3 separate regions of the Homo sapiens genome follow, and regions 1 and 2 are each linked to region 3. The links are contacts of gene promoters, found by promoter capture Hi-C in human tissues and cell types (Jung and others, 2019). All regions are on one chromosome and are shown on one strand. Each heading gives the region's core, a stretch centred on a gene start or on the middle of the fragment in contact. The rest is flanking DNA. Distances are from core to core; before and after follow the strand shown.

Region 1 (3,182 bases), core at 132-2,631, 250 kb before region 3:
TCCATCTATCCAGTAACCCATACTGTTAAGTTCCCTGAAGTAGAAGGGGGTTGGTGGGAGGAGCACGGCTGTGCTGGACCCTCCCCGCTAACTGATGGGAGGGTGAGGGGAGTTGGCAGTGAGAGGAAGGGCCCCTCCCAGCCATCCCGAGGGCCCCCAGGAGCCAGACAGGAAACAGCTCAGGAAAGACAGCAGCCGCAGCCGCAGCCCCAGCCTCAGGGGTCATGGCTGCGGGCGGCGGGGAAGCCCCCCCAAAACACGAGAGTGAGAGTGAGAAGGGCGATTTGGAGATCTAGCCGGACCCCTCACCCTCTCGGACACACCCACCTTTTTTTTTTTTTTTTTTTTTTTTGAGATTTCGTCTCACTCTGTAGCCCAGGCTGGAGTGCAGTGGCGCGATCTCAGCTCCCAGCTCACTGCAACCTCCGCCTCCTAGGTCCCGGTTCAAGCAATTCTCCTGCCTCAGCCTCCCGAGTAGCTAGGATTACAGGCGCGCGCCACCATGCCCAGCTAATTTTTGTATTTTTAGTAGAGACGGGGTTTCATCATGTTGGCCAGGCTGGTCTTGAACTCCTGACCTCAAATGATCCGCCTGCCTCTGCCTCCCAAAATGCTGGGACTACAGGCGTGAGCCACCGCGCCCGCCACACCCACCTTTTCTTTACCGTTGTTTCCTCGATTTTTCTCTACTCCCTAGCGCAGCTTAGTGCGCGCCTCCTCTGGACATTTTTCAGGGCTTGGTTGCGCGCACAGTAGGTCCCCAACACTGAATGTTTATGGGGTGACTGTGTGAACGTTCGCTGCAAGGCTATCCAAACTGGGATTGCTCCTTGAGGCCCCCTGGGCGGCCGTCAATTCTCCAAAGCTTCTACTCCCTTTTCCTTCCTTTTCCCCCAAAACGCAGTCCCTGCGCCCACTAGAGGGTGGTGGGCGCATCCAAGAGCGGCATCTAGAGTCCGCAGCAAGGTCAGAGCGGGCTTTGTGTGCGCGGTGAACATTTACGTGCACGCCTGGGCGGCCCTCCGTGTTGCTGCTGGGTGTGTGTTTTCTCTGCTCCCTGGTGCCAGCCGGGTTCGGGCCTGTCCCGGGGGTCCCTGGGCCCCAGCCCCGACATGCTCGGTCCTGGACAGCGCGCACCGCCACGGCGCACATCTGGGCGGTCCCGGGGTTCCTCACCCGCCGCCCCTCCCCCTTCTCCAAACTTTCTCTCAACTTCCCGACCTGCTCCACTCGGTGCCCCTCTCCGCTTCCCTCATGAATTATTCAGTAGCGTGAGCTCCAATCAGCGCGCCCGGGGCTCACTCGCGGAGCCCCCGCGTTGGGAGAGCTGCCCCCGCCCCCCGCGCGCCCCTCCCTCCCGGGCCCGGCGCCGCCCGGCCCAGTTCCAGCGCAGCTCAGCCCCTGCCCGGCCCGGCCCGCCCGGCTCCGCGCCGCAGTCTCCCTCCCTCCCGCTCCGTCCCCGCTCGGGCTCCCACCATCCCCGCCCGCGAGGAGAGCACTCGGCCCGGCGGCGCGAGCAGAGCCACTCCAGGGAGGGGGGGAGACCGCGAGCGGCCGGCTCAGCCCCCGCCACCCGGGGCGGGACCCCGAGGCCCCGGAGGGACCCCAACTCCAGCCACGTCTTGCTGCGCGCCCGCCCGGCGCGGCCACTGCCAGCACGCTCCGGGCCCGCCGCCCGCGCGCGCGGCACAGACGCGGGGCCACACTTGGCGCCGCCGCCCGGTGCCCCGCACGCTCGCATGGGCCCGCGCTGAGGGCCCCGACGAGGAGTCCCGCGCGGAGTATCGGCGTCCACCCGCCCAGGGAGAGTCAGACCTGGGGGGGCGAGGGCCCCCCAAACTCAGTTCGGATCCTACCCGAGTGAGGCGGCGCCATGGAGCTCCGGGTGCTGCTCTGCTGGGCTTCGTTGGCCGCAGCTTTGGAAGGTGAGTTTCCTTGCGGGGGGGGGCGCACCCCGTCACTCCTGGGACCTCCCCCCCAACATCTGGGCCTCGGAGTGGAGGGGCCGGCCTCTGACTACCCCTACCCGGGCACTGCAGTCCCAAACACTTCGGACCGATAGTGCTGGAACGGGAGGGGGGCGGGGAAGAGGCGCCCGACGGGTAGTGGAGTTTTCTTTTGTTTGGGAAAGAGATGGAGTCTGGCTACGACCCGGGACATTCCCCTGCCCGGGCTCCCCGAACTCTCACTGCTGATTACATACGCCCCTGGCTGCCTTTCCTTTCCTCCCTACCCCACTATTCAAAACTATCTGCAAAGTTTCTGTCCCAGTCCCACCTCCCGCCGTACATGAGGGAAGGTTTCTGGAGAAGCAACAGCAGACAAGGCACAACTTTTCGTGCTAGGCCCTAAAACGACCCCCAGCGCCAATTCCTTAGCGATCACACCTTGATCCTCCAGTTCCACACTCCTGCAACAGGATGGCCTCCTTTGCATTCACACAGCAAACCCCCAAACCGCTCTCCCGCCCACTGCTCCTGCCCCTGGTATAGGGTGGCTCCTTGGTTTCTACAGGCTGCACCCCATCCCTTTAAATGCGGTCTAGACCCCGGCCCCAGGTGAGTCCCGGGCTTCCCTTGAGACCTAGGAGCGGGTAGAAACTGACCTACACAGCCCCCAGGTAGAAACTGACCTACACAGCCCCCACATCGCCCTAACTAACCCAGTCTATCTCCCACCTCCTGGTCTCTCCAAGCATTTCTTTGGCCATGGATCGCTGTCCCTCCTGGTCCCCTAAAGGGGGAGCCAAGAGCCCTAGAAACTCTCCTGTGTCCCTAATGTCCTTTCAGTGAGCTGCCAACACCCCCCTTTCTCTGTCTGGTATGAAAGTGGTTATGGGGCGGTAGGCTATGAGGGACTCCCAAAGGGAAGGATTCAGCGGCGTTAGAAAAACCCTCTCCCCCTGGCTGGGCAGGACTGCCCTGGGCTGGGGATCAAAGGCTAGGTGTGGGGTTGGGAGTGAGGGGAGGCTTGCCCAGCTCAGAGAACGGAGAAGGGGGAACAAAAACCATGAACGAGGGGAAGAGGAAGGCCAAAGGGGTGGAAAAACCACGAGGACGAGGTGTGGTGAGAAGGAAAGACGCAAAGAGGAAATGGTGATTGTGACACCTATTACCTGAGTGTTTCCAAGCACCAGGCCTGTGCTGAGCGCCTTACAAATATTAATTTCACCCATCCAGCAA
Region 2 (2,959 bases), core at 87-2,586, 240 kb before region 3:
TCCTCTTGGGCTAAGCCCTGGTCCTCTGCCTTTTCTTTTTTTTAAGACAGAGCCTCGCTCTGTCGCCCAGGCTGGAGTGCAGTGGCGCGATCTCGGCTCATTGCTGTCTCCACCTCCAGGGTTCAAGCGATTCTCCTGCCTCAGTCTCCCAAGTAGCTGGTACTATAGGCATGCACCACCATGCTGACTAATTTTTGTATTTTTAGTAGACACAGGGTTTCACCATGTAGGCCAGGCTGGTATCAAACTCCTGACCTCAAGTGATCTCCCCACCTCAGCCTCCCAAAGTGCTGGTATTACAGGTGTGAGGCACCACGCCTGGCCAGCCCTCTGCCTTTAATTTTCCCTCTGGGAAAGGCTGGGCTCCTGGGACCTTCCTTTCCCACTGCCCCATACAGCTGAAGGTTGTCATTCCTTCTTTTTTTTTTTAATTTTGTTTTAATTGAATTTTTTTTTTTTGAGATGGAGTTTCACTCTTGTTGCCCAGGCCGGAGTGCAATGGCAAGATCTTGGCTCACCGCAACCTCCGCCTCCCAGGTTCAAGCGATTCTCCTGCCTTAGCCTCCCCAGTAGCTGGGATTATAGGCATGTGCCACCACGCTTGACTAATTTTGTATTTTTAGTAGAGACGGGGGTTTCTCTGTGTTGGTCAGGCTGGTCTCGAACTCCCGACCTCAGGTGATCCGCCTGCCTCGGCCTCCCAAAGTGCTGGGATTACAGACGTGAGCCACCGCGCCCGGCCAATTTTTTTTTTTTTTTTTTAAGACAGAGTCTCACTCTGTCCTCTAGGCTGGAGTGCAGTGGTGCATTCATAGCTCACTGTAGCCTTGACCTCCTGGGCTCAAGTGATCCTCCCGCCTCAGCCTCCTGAGTAGCTGGAACTACACTCATGTACCACCATGCTCAGCAAATTTTTAAAATTTTTTGTAGAGACAGGATCTCGATAGGTTGCCCAGGCTGGTCTGAACTCCTGGCCTCAAGCGAGCCTCCCTCCTCAGCCTCCCACAGCACTGGGATTGCAGGCATGAGCCACTGTGCCTGGCCTGTCATTCCTTCTTTTGACAAATATTTACTGAGTGCTTTCTACGCACCGGTCATCCTCCCAGTCCCCAGGAATAAAGCTATACACACGGCAAACTGGATTTCTCCTCTTGGGGAGCAGAGGGTCTAATGGGGCAGGGGGACTGAAAATTAGCAAGTAAATAGACAGGCTTTTTAAAAAAGTAAACAAATCATTTCAAATGTGAAAAAAAGCAAACGGGGTCCTTCATGCAGATGTGGCTAGAGAGGAAAGAGAACTGCTTAATTTATTTGGTCACTTTACCAGATTTTACTGACTTTTTTTTTTTTTTTAACTTTATTAAGCTTTTCTTTTTTCTTGAGATGGAGTTTCCATCTGTCACCCAGGCTGGAGTGCAGTGGTGCGTTCTTGGCTCACCGCAACGTCCACCTCCTGGGTTCAAGTGATTCTCCTGCCTCAGCCTCCTGAGTAGCTTGGAATTGCATGGCATGCACCACCATACCCAGCTGATGTTTGTATTTTTAGTAGAGACAGGGTTTCATCATGTTGCCCAGGCTGGTCTTGAACTCCTGGGCTCAAGTGATCCACCCATCTCGGCCCCTCAAAGTGCTGGGATTACAGGCATGAGCCACCATGCCTGGCCTAGGCATCTTTTTAAAAAAATCAAAACATTTTTCTATGTAGCAAAATAACATTGCATTGAACAGAGTTATAGCGATTCCCTAGCGTCATTGAATACCCAGTTGATTTTCACGTTTCTCTAGTTGTTCTAAAGATGTCCTTCACTGCTGCTTTATTCCAACCAGGATCCAGTTCAAGACCGGGCTTTGTACCTGGTTATTATATATATTTTATTTATTTATTTTAGAAACAAGGTCTTGCCCTTTCGCCCAGTTTAGAGTGCAGTGGTGCAATCATAGCTCACTGCAGCCTCCAAACTCCTTGGCTCAGGTGATCCTCCTGCCTCAGCCTCCTGGGTAGCTGGAACTACAGGTGCACACCACCACACCTGGCTAATTTTTAAATTTTTTACGGAGATGGGGGTCTCGCTATGTTGCCCAGGCTGGTCTCAAACTCCTGGACTCAAGCGATCCTCCCTCCTTAACCTCTCAAAGTGCTGGGATTACAGGCGTGAGCCACCACGCCTGCTGATTATTATATTTTCGAGCCTCTCTAAATCTTGAGCAGTTCCTCATGATGACACTGACACACTGAAGGGTTAGGTCCCTTGTCCGCCTGAATGTCTTGATTTCTGGATTTATGAAATTCTTCTTATGGGATCATTTAGCTTGTCTCTCTGTATTTCCTGTAAGAGAAGCTCTATCTGATGTGGGGTTTTTTTGGTTTTGTTTGTTTGTTTTTTGAGATGGAGTCCTGCTGTCGCCCAGGCTGGAGTGCAGTGGCACAATCTCGGCTCACTGCAACCTCCGCCTCCTGGGTTCAAGAGATTCTTCTGCCTCAGCCTCCTGAGTAGCTGGGACTACAGGCGAGTGCCACCATGCCCAGCTAATTTTTGTATTTTTAGTAGAGACAGGGTTTCACCATATTGGCCAGGATGGTCTCGAACTTCTGACCTCGTGATCTGCCCACCACCTCAGCCTCCCACAGTGCTGGGATTACAGGCATGAGCCACTATGCCCGGCTAATTTTTGTATTTTTAGTAGAGACAGGGCTTCGCCATGTTGGCCAGGCTGATCTGAAACCCCTGGCCTCAAGCCATCCACCCTCCTTGGCCTCCCAAAGTGCTGGGATTAAACGCGTGAGCCACCGTGCCTGGTCGAAGAGACAGAAAGGGTCTTAAAGGTTCAGTGACACACACCTGTAATCCCAGCACTTTGGGAAGCTGAGGCTGGTGGATCACTCGAGGCCAGGAGTTAGAGATCACCCTGGGCAACATGGTGAAACCCCGTCTCTACACAAAATACAAAAATGGGCAGA
Region 3 (2,847 bases), core at 325-2,824:
ACATGCCCTGCCCTGCACTCCTCCTGCACTGCACTCCCCCTGCCCAGCACGTCAGCATGTGGGCGTGGTTCTGGCCCCAGCACGTGAGGGCAGGGGTGGGAGGGACTGTCCTGCTGCTGCTGCTGACGTCTGTCCCTTGTCCTTGTCCACCTGCTCTCCTCTCCCCCAGGCTGACCTGTGCTCGCCCTCGGATCTCCTCCAGGGCACTGCCCGGGGGCTGCGGACCGCGCTGGAGGCCGTGAAGCGGGTGGGGGGCAAGGCCCTACCGCCCCTCTGGCCCCCCTCTGGTCTGGGCGGCTTCGTCGTCTTCTACGTGGTCCTCATGCTGCTGCTCTATGTCACCTACACTCGGCTCCTGGGTTCCTAGGCCCCAAAATCGGCCCTCCCTCACCCCTTTCCCTTCCTCTCTATTTATAAGGTCCCTGCTCCACCCGACCCCACCTGCGGTGCCTTCAGCCCCAACCAAAGACACTAGTGCACCCCCTTCACAGACACTGACCTCAGAGGCCCCACTCTGGTGCCCCCAGACCCTGGGCCCCCAGCCTCTGGCCTCCCTCCAGTAGCCCCACGAGTCCCCACCTCTCAGTGCTGACGGTGCCTTCATGTCCCCGCCGGCCCTGCCCCTGCCCTCTGTACCCCGTGAGGGGTGGCAGGAGCTGGAGTCTCCCCCTTCCTCCTGTGCCCTCCCCTTCCCCCCCCAACAGCTGCTATGGGGGGGCTAAATTATCTCTATTTTGTAGAGAGGATCTATATTTGTAGGGGTTCGGGGCCCAGGCCGGGTCCCTATCTCTGTGTATAAACTGTACAGACCGTGGCCGCCCTGCCTGTGTGTGTGTGTGTGCGCGCGCGCGCGCGTCTGCTCCGCGTGTTGGTGGCTGTGGCCATGGCTCTGTGCCCACCAGCATCTCCCTCCTGAGATGCCGGCCTCTCATGCTCCCGGAGCGTCCGCCAACCCCCCGTGTCACCTCCCTTCTGTTATCGCTGACAGCTTTCTTGCGTCTCATTTGTCGCCGAGCCCCGAGCGCACGGTGATGCTCGGGTCTGCCCCCGACCCCCTGCCACAGGCCGGAAGCCGCAGGGGGCACCGTGGGGAAGCTAACCCGGCCCCTTCCCCCAGGAGTCACTGTGCCAGCCCCACCACATCCTGGAAGAGGAGGGGGCCCCGGGAAGGGGCCTCCCCTACATCGCTGCTGTCGTCCACGCCCTGCTGGACCGGCCTTAGGGGTGAAGGTGGGGGCACAGGGCCCACCCCGCCCGGGACCCCGGGAGCAGAAGACGCGCCTGGGCTCCGCGCTCTCAGAGAAGCACGTGGTGAGGGTGGCCTGGGCCTGGGCACCCTTGGCCTGCCGGCCTGGCTGCCTCTGGGGTCGAGGGTCTGGGTGGAAGGACCGCGGGTGTCGCAGGTGTCGTGTCAGCCGCAATAAACAGAAGCCAGAAGCCCTCTGGGTGGCCCTCAGGTGTAACTGTGTCTGAGAGCACGTGCGTCGCGGGGTTGTTGGGGGGGCCTCTGTTTCCGGAATTCACCGCCCAGTCGCCAGGGGGCGCCCGCGGGAGCCCGGCGGGGGCACGCGCCACGTGGCCGGGAGACGCACAGGGCGCCAGCGTCGCCGCGAGGCCTCTGGGGTGGGTTCGCCAGGAGGGCACGTTCGCGCCGCGCCGCGGAGGGAGGCTGAGAGGGCCGGGCCGGGCGGCGGGGACACGGCGGTACCGTCCTGCGCTCGGGAACGCGGAATGTTGCCCTGGTCGCCGCCGCGGTGGGGCGCGGGCCCGGAGGAGGCGCCCGAGGGACCAGGCCTTCCGGCGGGCAAGGACCAGGGCGAGCCCTGGAGCGCCGGAGCGGACGCCCCCAGGGAGCTGGGGACACCCCCATGGGACAGGTGAGGGGCTCGGACGGAGCCGTGGGGGGACAGCGACTGGGGGCCTCCATGCCTTCACCACGCGCTCTACGGAGGCTTCTCCATTGTCCCTGCTGGAGATTGGGTCCCTCGGTCTCCCTTGCACCAGGCACCCTTGGGCTCCAGGGGAGGGTGCGTGGGGGCGGTGTGGCTGCAGCCTCAGTCCCTGCCCCTCCAGCCCACAGCCCCCATCCCGTAGCCCTTCCTGGATCTGGAGAGAGCAGCTGCTGCTGCCCCACCACCTGCCAGGCCCGGCCACTGAGCAGCCCCCCGGAGCCCCAGGTAGGACAGGCCCTGCTGCCTCTACTACCCCTAAGAGCCTCTCACTGACTGTGAGCCTGTTATAATCCCCAAGCGTCCCCCCAGATCCCCGTTCCCCCCAGGTGGCCTGGGAGGTGGCCCCCTCGAGGATGACTCCACTAGCGCCCTGGGACCCCAAGTATGAAGCCAAAGCAGGACCTCGGCCGGTGTGGGTGAGTTGGGGGCAAACCTGTGGGACTGGCTGGGGTGCTCAGGGAGCTGTGCGGTGGCCTGAGGCTCCAGTGCTCTGTCCTCCTCACCCTAGGGGGCCAACTGTAGCTCAGGAGCCTCGTTCTCAGGCCGGACGCTGTGTCACCCCTCATTCTGGCCGCTGTATGAAGCAGCCTCGGGCAGGGGTCTCAGGCCCGTGGCCCCTGCCACAGGGCACTGGAATGGACAGCAGGCGCCCCCAGATGCAGGTACCTCCCTTGGTCCCCCGGGGGCGCAAGGCTGCCCCAACTCCTCTGGGAACCAGTGCCCAGGGGTGGGAGCCCGCAGCCCGCCACCCTAGTGGTGTTTCCTCCTAGGGTTCCCGGTGGTGTGCTGTGAAGATGTCTTCCTCTCGGACCCTCTGCTGCCCCGGGGGCAGCGTGTTCCCCTGTACCTGTCCAAGGCCCCCCAGCAGGTGAGAGCTCTTTCCCCTCCCTGTCCT

The links. The method cuts DNA at HindIII sites, captures the fragments that hold promoters and counts their contacts. A contact is called where the count stands out against the background at its distance.
Region 1: the fragment with the promoter of EPHB4 here is called in contact with the fragment with the promoter of SAP25 in region 3 in 2 of the 25 tissues and cell types used here (IMR-90 fibroblasts and mesenchymal stem cells).
Region 2: a fragment that was not itself captured here is called in contact with the fragment with the promoter of SAP25 in region 3 in 1 of the 25 tissues and cell types used here (spleen).

What each region holds. Positions count from the first base shown.
Region 1 is chr7:100,825,722-100,828,903 of GRCh38, reverse strand. EPHB4 (EPH receptor B4) reads left to right here and starts at 1,381. Exons shown (of 17, transcript NM_004444.5): 1 at 1,381-1,925. The coding sequence starts at 1,874. It also overlaps a transcript of SLC12A9 not described here. RefSeq lists an enhancer at 582-1,377. The HindIII fragment of the contact is 16,187 bases long and covers 1-3,182 here.
Region 2 is chr7:100,809,673-100,812,631 of GRCh38, reverse strand. All of the region lies in intron 12 of EPHB4 (EPH receptor B4), which reads left to right. Among named protein-coding and RNA genes, the nearest start is that of EPHB4, 16 kb to the left of the region's middle. The HindIII fragment of the contact is 4,931 bases long and covers 1-2,959 here.
Region 3 is chr7:100,572,627-100,575,473 of GRCh38, reverse strand. It overlaps SAP25 (Sin3A associated protein 25), which reads left to right and starts at 1,574. Exons shown (of 6, transcript NM_001348680.2): 1 at 1,574-1,877; 2 at 2,074-2,177; 3 at 2,262-2,368; 4 at 2,461-2,614; 5 at 2,723-2,820. The coding sequence starts at 1,732. LRCH4 (leucine rich repeats and calponin homology domain containing 4) reads left to right here. Exons shown (of 18, transcript NM_002319.5): 18 at 170-1,463. The coding sequence ends at 367. RefSeq lists enhancers at 1-155, 156-710. The HindIII fragment of the contact is 26,041 bases long and covers 1-2,847 here.